Regions from separate parts of the Homo sapiens genome. Here region 2 is linked to region 1. The links are contacts of gene promoters, found by promoter capture Hi-C in blood cells and fetal thymus (Javierre and others, 2016). All regions are on one chromosome and are shown on one strand. The core of a region is centred on a gene start or on the middle of the fragment in contact, and the rest is flanking DNA. Distances in the headings are between cores, read along the strand shown.

What was found. The method cuts DNA at HindIII sites, captures the fragments that hold promoters and counts their contacts. A CHiCAGO score of 5 or more calls a contact.
Region 2: a contact is called between a fragment that was not itself captured here and the fragment with the promoter of MTCL2 in region 1, in 1 of 17 cell types (M2 macrophages). The highest score is 5.5, in M2 macrophages.

The regions. Positions count from the first base shown.
Region 1 is chr20:36,861,561-36,865,762 of GRCh38, forward strand. It overlaps MTCL2 (microtubule crosslinking factor 2), which reads right to left and starts at 1,978. Exons shown (of 15, transcript NM_080627.4): 1 at 1,098-1,978. The coding sequence starts at 1,784. RefSeq lists silencers at 1,578-1,727, 1,798-2,687. The HindIII fragment of the contact is 4,947 bases long and covers 836-4,202 here.
Region 2 is chr20:36,753,663-36,757,864 of GRCh38, forward strand. It overlaps DSN1 (DSN1 component of MIS12 kinetochore complex), which reads right to left. Exons shown (of 11, transcript NM_001145315.2): 9 at 2,020-2,167; 10 at 1,101-1,188. Among named protein-coding and RNA genes, the nearest start is that of NDRG3, 9.7 kb to the left of the region's middle. The HindIII fragment of the contact is 1,595 bases long and covers 1,094-2,688 here.

The DNA.
Region 1 (4,202 bases), core at 728-3,227:
TGCTGAGGGCAGACATAAACCAGCAGCATGCTGTGAGCTCCACAGCCAGGGGCACTCTGGGTGTTGTGCCAGGCCATCATCCACTGACAAGAGTCGGCAACATTTCAGCCTCCTCCAAAACCGTGCCCAGCCAGCGGCAGGAGAGCTCAGGAAGCTTCCAGCCTCCCAGGGAGAGGTCAACACGTGCAAGCTGGGCTGTCCCTAAAGCTGCCATGGCACCTGGAAGCGTGCAGATGGAGCCCGGCTGGCACCCAGTAGGTGCTCATGTCCACTGAAAAAGCAAAGGCAAAGCCTGCTGTCCGGGGGAAGCCCTAGGGTCCCCACATGGCCACAGGGAAGTCCTGTTCCAGGTGGGCAGTTGCCCTCCTCTCACTGCGAACATGGAAAGGCACTGGCCACGAGGGGCCAATGGGGCTGTTGTGTGCACAAGGTCTGCCCCAGGGAGGGCAAAAGACACTGTCCTGGGATTTAGGAAGCTGCCTCTGAACCGGTTCTCCCACGACATCATCCTCCAGGCTGTGGGACCGTTAGGCTGGGCGGAAGTGGACTCCAGCCAAGGGGATGTTCCCAGATGTCATGCTTTCAAACTGGACCCGCCCAGAAAGGCAGGCAGAGACAGGCCTGCGCCCGGGAAAGCCCTGGGTAACGACTCAGGATGGCATTCAGGCCTTTCCTGGGCAGGGGATGGCCACAGGTTTCCCTGGCGGCGGTGTCTATCAATCCCGTCCCAAGAAGGAGAGCCTGGGCGTGGAGGTTCTGGGCAGCTGAAGGCAGAGATCCATCCCTTCCCTGGCTACCCACCCCCACCTCAGCAACGCCTCCCAGAACGCTCCAAAGCTTTCTCAAGTCCCCGCTCCCAGGTTAGGGCCCTGTAGCCAGTTCCAAGGTCTTTTTCAGGAGCGCGCTTCCCAAATAAAGTTGAGAGGGGGCGGGGGGAATGAGGGAGCCCCAGATCCACCTCAGAGTGGTCCCCAGAGGGCTTGGGCCCCTTTCTCCGGATTGTTCAGTGGGAAGGAGGGCCGGCTGGTGCCTCAGGCCCGCGGGACTGTGACAGCCGGCGACCCCTGCGACCTCCCTTTCTACCCGGGCGCCCCCACCTTGAGATAGTCGTTCTCCGAGCGCAGCTCCTCCAGCTCCCGCACCAAGCCGCTGGGCCCGCAGTCCAGCATCTCCTCGGTGAGGTCGGAGAAGGCAAGCGAGGCGCTGAGCGGCAAGCGGCTGCTGCCCACCGACGACGCGGCCACCGACGGCTCGTCCGGGGAGGCGGGCGGCCGCGGGGGCTGCTGCGCGGAGGGCGCGGGCTGGGCCGGCTGCCCCGTACGGACCCCCGCCGGGCCCCCGGCCGCGGACTCGGCGTCGCTGCTCAGCGCCAGCTCCAGGCCCAGCAGGCGCGCCTCCTCCGACGCGCAGTCCGACACCTCCGAGCTGCTATCCGTGAGGCTGGGGGGCGGCGGTGGCGGTCGCGGCCCCGCACCCGAGCGCGGACGGCCCTTGGCACGGACCCCGGTGCGGACCCCGGCCACCCGCACACCCGCACCGCGCGCCCCGGGAGCCACTGCGCGCCCCTTCTTGTCCGGCCGTGAGGAGAACGCGGCGCTGCAGGCGACTGCTGAGCCCGGGCCTGGGCCGCGGCGGCCCTTAGCCAGCGACCAGCCGGCCACGTCTTTGGGCCGGGCCGGCGACGGCGCGCGGTGGCTCTTTTTCCTCTCCGGGGCAGGCGCGGGTGCAGGCGCGGGCTGGGGACCGCAGCCCCGGACCGGGGGCTCGGCCGCCGGCGCCTCCATCGCGGCCTCCCTCGGCCTCAGCGAGCTGCGCGCATGGCCCAGGCCCGCCCGGCCTCGACGTCCCTGGGGAGGGACCCGGCGCGGCTCCGGCCGCTGGGGCTGCGGCTGCTCTCGGCCCACCTCGGCCCCGACACCGCGTCCCCGTCCCAAGCCCCGCCGCGCGGTCTCTCCGCTGCTCTGGGCTCGGAGAGTGCGGCCCGACCGCCTCCAGGCGCCCCGGCTCCGGCTGCGGCTCCGCCCGGCGCCCGCCCCCTCGGCCTCGCCGCGCCCCCGGAGCGCGCCCGGGCCCCCGCCGCCCGCACGCCGATCGCTCCCTCGGGCTCCGAGTCCGGCTGCGGCCCGGGCCCCGGCTCCGCCCGGCGCAGCCCGCCCCCCGCGCAGCCCCGCCAGCTCCCCGCCCCGCCGCCTCGGCTCGGGGGCGCGCGGTTCCGCGAACAAAAGGCGGACGCGGCGGGAGCGGCAGGGAGGGACGCAGGCAGGGAGCGAGGGAGGGATCTGCGAGGCAACAGCGACCCCTTCGAGGGTCAGGCTGGCGCGGGCAGCCGCGGCCCGGGCTCCCTCCTCCTCCGCTCCGCCGCCTCCTCCCCTGCCCGCTCGGGGAAGGCACCCGGCGGAGGCGCCCCTGCGCCCGGCGTCCGGGCAGGGCCTGCGAGAGCGGCGGGAGCCGGGACTCCCGGGCCGAGGCCGGGCGGACCTCAGTTCGCAGGAACCCGCATCCATGCACGCCCAGCGCCTCGCCCCTCGCCCCGTGCCGAGCGTGCGCGAACTCCGCCCCCTTAGCCGGCATCGCCGGAGCCGCGATCCCATCGCACAGATGCGTAAACTGAAGCCTGGGGTGCACGCGCCAAGCTCACGGTCTAGGCGGCGCCGATGGGACCCAAAGCTCACACCTCCCGGGCGCGCTCGGGCTCCCCCTGCCTCGGCTTCCCTCTCCTGGCATAGGGACCGTGAAGCCCTGTGTGCATGCCTGGCTCGCGCACCTTGACCGGCGGATATTTCTCCCCATGCGCCCCCGACCCGGGTTTCAGGCTCTGTACGGCTAAAATGGAAGCGACCCGTAGCTAGGCGCGGTGGCTCATGCCTGTAATCCCAGCACTTTGGGAGGCCGAGGCGGGTGGATCACGAGGTCAGGAGTTCGAGACCAGCCTGACCAACATGATGAAACCCCGTCTCTACTAAAAATACACAAATTAGCCGGGCGTGGTAGCGCGTGCCTGTAATCCCAGCTACTCGGGAGGCTGAGGCAGGAGAATCGCTTGAACCCGGGAGGCGGAGGTTGCAGTGAGCCGAGGTCGCGCCACTGCACTCCAGTCTGGGTGGCAGAGCTAGACTCCATCTCAAAAAAATAAACAAATAAATAAAAACAAAAATAAAATGGAGGGGACCTATTACGAGATGTCAGCCTAGCGGATGCTTTGGAAGGCGGTTTTGGCCCCCGTGGGGGCTGGCATGGGCTGGGACGGTTGCCCTGACCCCACACGTCCCCACCAGGAGCAGTGCAGGAGGACTTGAGCTCTGATGGGCGTGTTTTCTTTCCTCCCGGGCGTCTGGGCGTCTCCTTGGCTCCTGGCCGTGTTGATTTTCCCATGTCTCTCACACCTTCCCCAGCCCCCACACCGCCTGGCCGCTACGCCCCCATCCCTGAGCCACCGCAGGGCAGAGCTGGATTGAGTGCTTTGCCCCACAGATGTACCCTCGTCCTTAGGGTGCCCCACACCCCTTGCCACCAGAAGGGCAGGGCTGTTTTTGCCCCTTTACAACCTCTTTCTCCTCCTGTTCTCTCCTCCCCCTCCCATTTATCCCCTGCTCTTTCTTCCTCCTTCTTCTCCCATCTTTCCCCTTCCTTTCCCCCCTCCTTTTCCAAGTCTTCCTTTTCCTCCTCTTTCCCCTCTTCTTCCTCCTGCCCATTTTCTCCTTCTTCTTCCTCCCCCAATTCCCTTCCTTCACCTCTGCACCTGCCTGTGACACAGCAGGCACCAGGTCCACTTCTTTGTCTCTGTCCCACCTCCCCCACACGCTGTGAATACACTCCTGGGGCATCCCCTCTCTCCAGAGGCATGACTTCATCTGGATCCAGGTGAGTGAGTGCTCCTCCACCCCAACGCTAGGTGCCCTCCATACGGCCAAGTGAGGAGCAGGCACTCAGCAGGCTCTTGGCAAACACTTCCGCAGGGGCATCCCCACCCCCTCCTAGCAAGACACCAGCTCCCCTCACGGCCCACTGACTGTCCACAAACCCTGTTTGCACAGGCGCCAGGTACACTGAGGGACGCAGTGGTGGGCATGTCAGTGCCTGAACTCATGGAGCACACAGTGTGTGTTGGGGGGGACCACAAAAGACTCAGCACAAACAGGGTGGCATGGCATGTGGGCAGGAGTGCTGGAGAAGGATGTGGGAGCCGCAGGCTAGTGACCCAG
Region 2 (4,202 bases), core at 641-3,140, 110 kb before region 1:
AGAAAGAAAGAAAGCCAGCCACCACTACAATCACAATACAATGTGATCAATAAGAAGATGGAGGCTGGGAGCAGTGGCTCATGCCTGTAATCCCAGCACTTTGGGAGGCCAAGGCAGGTGGATCACCTGAAGTCAGGAGTTCGAGACCAGCCTGACCAACATGGAGAAACCCCGTCTCTACTAAAAATATAAAATTAGCCGGGCATGGTGGAGCATGCCTGTAATCCCAGCTACTCGGGAGGCTGAGGCAGAAGAATCCCTTGAACCCGGGAAGCAGAGGTTGCAGTGAGCCGAGATCGCACCATTGCACTCTAGCCTGGGCAACAAGAGTGAAACTCCGTCTCAAAAAAAAAAACAAACAAAAAAACCCAAAAAAACAAGATGGTCAGGTGCAGTGGCTCACACTTGTAATCCCAGCACTTTGGGAGGCTGAGGCAGGATGATCACTTGAGCCCAGGAGTTGAAGACCAGCCTGGACAAACAGGGGGACCCCATCTCTACAAAAAAATTAAAAATTTAGCTGGGTGTGGTGGTGGTGGTGCATGCTTTTAGTCCCAGCTACTCTGGGAGCCTGAGGTGAAAGGACTGCTTGAGCCTATCAGGTTGAGGCTGCAGTGAGCTGTGCAGTCATTGTGCCATTCACTCCAACCTGGATGACAAAGCGAGAGACTTTGCCCCCCCAGCCCAAAAAAAAAGTAGAAGAAGAAAGAAAATGAAGGTATGTATAGCCAATAATTTAGGGCTGGAAGGAGGTCAGGAAAAGCTAGGGAGGAGTAATGTCAGTGTCACTTAGTGAATTCTTGAGAAATGAAGAGGGAAAAAGCAATGGGTGGGTATTTCTTAAGTCTTGGATTTACCAAAACAACAACATATTTCATGGGGATTTAATTCTCAGTCTACTGTGCTTCTGTAGAATTTACATCTAGAAATTTCCTATCAACTCTGAGTACCCATAACATACTATTTATTGTGGGGAGAAAAACAAATCACCTCATATAGGTCTTACCCTCTTGGACCATAGGCTTTGAAGGGCAGTTTGTATCCCAAAGGCTATCATGGAAAACAGCCTGAACTCTGGTCCCCTCAAGAGACAAGCTTACCGAGCTGTACTGACACCTTCTGGAAGCACTGGGTACTTTCATCCATAAAGGCCTGCAGCTGTTTCACTGATCCTTGCAGTTCATCCATCTGTAGAAAAAAGACAGCTGTGAGCTGTAAAGGTCCATGGCTTCTTGGATGTTCCTCAAACCTGACAAGCAAGCTCTTGCTCAGGAGCTCTGGGCTTGCTGTTCTTTCAGCCTGGAATGCTTATGCCAGATAATTCTGTTTGTTCCTCCAAAGTCACACCACATTCTTCTCCAGGCTGCTCTATGCTCCAGGAGGCTGACCCATGTAACCTCTACCAACAGGATGCCTAAGTGGGAAGGAGCTGAACGAGTCATCTTGAGTTGGCTCAACTCAGCTAACCATGTGACTTTCTCCCATTAGATGCCACAGTAACTGCTACTCCCTCCTCCCTTTGAGTCCTAGGAGGAGTAAGAGCTCTACTGCCTATAAGCCCCAGGTTACTCCACTAACCCTTGTGGTTCTCCAATACCCATACCTTTCTATTTAGCCTTTCTGAAAATAAACTCTCCTTGAATTGTCCTTTCAAATGCCATCTGCTTGCTATTAATACCTGGTTTGACACAACACTACTCCCTCAAACGTCCTCATGGCTCATTTCCTTCAAGTCTGTTGAAATGGCACCTCAGAGGAGCCTTCAATAACCTTGCTATATAAAATAGCAACCCACCAACCTCCCTATACTGTCTGTCTCTCTTACCCTGCTTCATCAGCATTTACCACTATATATTCATTTGTTTATTATTTTTTAATTGTCTCTCCATGTTTTCCTAAGGTAGAGTTGAATATACATATTCAACTTACACTTATACATTTCTCCAGGTCTTTTAATTTCCAAGGATTACAAGGTGGCAAAGCTGGATAACTCAACTAAATAAACATGAGCCCACTTACCACCAACTCCATACAGTCAAAGACTTTGCTCTGGTTCTGTAATATTTTCTGGTAGTCAGGTTTTGTATTAAGAACTTCATTCTGAGAAGACCCAAGATATGTCATAGGTTCCACTTTGACCTCAGTAATTTTGGCCTCAGTTGATCCTCTAAAAACAAAACACAAGAGCTTTTGAGAGATTCTGTAATTATTTTCTGGAAGAGATACCAAAGATTATCCTATAAAGCTGAATCAGTATTCCTCCACTCTACGCTAGCTATAGGCTCACTTCTTAACAGAAAGGTTTTTTTTTGTTTGTTTGTTTGTTTTTGAGATGGAGTCTCACTCTGTTGCCCAGGATGGAGTGCAGTGGTGCGGTCTCAGGTCTCGGCTCACTGCAACCTCTGCCTCCCGGGTTCAAGCAATTTTCCTGCCTCAGCCTCCTGAGTAGCTGGGATTTCAGGCACCTGCCACCATGCCCAGCTAATTTTTTGTATTTTTAGTAGAGACGAGGTTTCACCATGTTGGCCAGGCTGGTCTCGAACTCCTGAACTTGTGATCTGCCCGCTTCGGCCTCCCAAAGTGCTGGAATTACAGGCGTGAGCCACCGCGCCTGGCCTTAACAAGAAGTTCTGAAACAATTGTCTAGTATTCATGTCTTTATACCTCCGGACTCCAGGAAATGCTGGAAGCTTCCAGTCAGTTGAATCCACTTAATAGTAAGGTCCATATACCAGAAGGACTATACTTGGGAGAGAGTGAAGCCAAAGCTTACTATCCTAAAGTCAGTGTCTATAATTGTTTACCAAAACATGCTGGCCTACTTCAATTATCTAAAATAACTGAACAGGACTGAGAGTTCATGAAAACTGATGAACAACAACTTTAATAACAACAACTACTACAATTTACTGAGTGCTAAGTATATGCCAGATATTACTGGGCACTTTACATTTAACCTAATTTGACACAATAACCCAATGAGGAAGGTACTAATATCATCCCCATTTTCAAATGAGGAACCTCAGGCTCATTCAAGACTAAGTGACTTGCCCAAGGTCACAAAACTAAGGAACAGTTAGAGTCTGAACAGACAGTCTGCTTCCAGAACCATTCCTCTTAACCTACAAGCTTTGCCACAAAAGATTTTATCTGAAACTAGCATCTTACACATTATCTATCTTCATAAATACAGTATGTAAGGGGTGAATAAAGTAACTGATAACCATCATTACCTGGATTGGGGAAATTTTTCAAACCATGCTCCTCAAAGCCCCTCTCTACTGAGAGGCCACTTTTGTAATTAGGGTTTTGACTAACATTTTGTAGTTGGGATTCTAGCTGATTCTATCTCAAAAAAAAGCTTAAAACCATGGTTTAAATGTTCAACTAAATCAAAATCTAGCATTTTCTGGCCAGGTGCTGTGGCTTACACCTGTAATCTCAACACATTGGGAGGCCAAGATGGGCAGATCACTTGAGGCCAGGAGTTCACGACCAGCCTGGCCAACATGGCAAAACCCTGTCTCTACTAAAAATACAAAAATTAGTGGGGTGTGGTGGAGCATGCCTGTAATCCCAGCTACTCGGGAGGCTGAGGCAGGAGAATCGCCTGAACTAGGGAGTTGGAGGCTGCAGTGAGCCGAGATCGTGCCACTGCATTCCAGCCTGGGCGACAGAGCAAAAAAACAAACAAAAAAACAACAAAAAAACACCCAGCCCAGCCTGGCCAACATGGTGAAATCCTGTCTCTACTAAAAATACAAAAATTAGCCACGCATCATGGCAGACACCTGTAGTCCCAGCTACTCAGGAGGCTGAGGCAGGAAAATTGCTTGAACCCGGGAGGCAGAGTGAGCTCAGATGGCGCCATGCACTCCAGCCTTGGCAACAGAGCGAGAGTCTGTCTCCAAAACAAAACAAAACAAAACAAAACAACACCTAGCACTTTCCTACTTTTCCTCTACCTTCAAGACCCAAAGATCCTCTCTTTCCTCAATCTTCCTCATCACCCACTTTCATGTCTTTCTGTCTCCAAGAAGGCCCTGGCCAAGGGCATCCCCCAAACCTGCAGCTCATAGGCCATGTGCTCACTGAAGCCCCTTGGTTACTGTTCTTGGCCCAACCCCAGGCTGCCAGATACAATGCAGAGATGTGTCTGTCTCCCCCAGGATATGAAATGTTAGCCAAGGACACAGAACAGA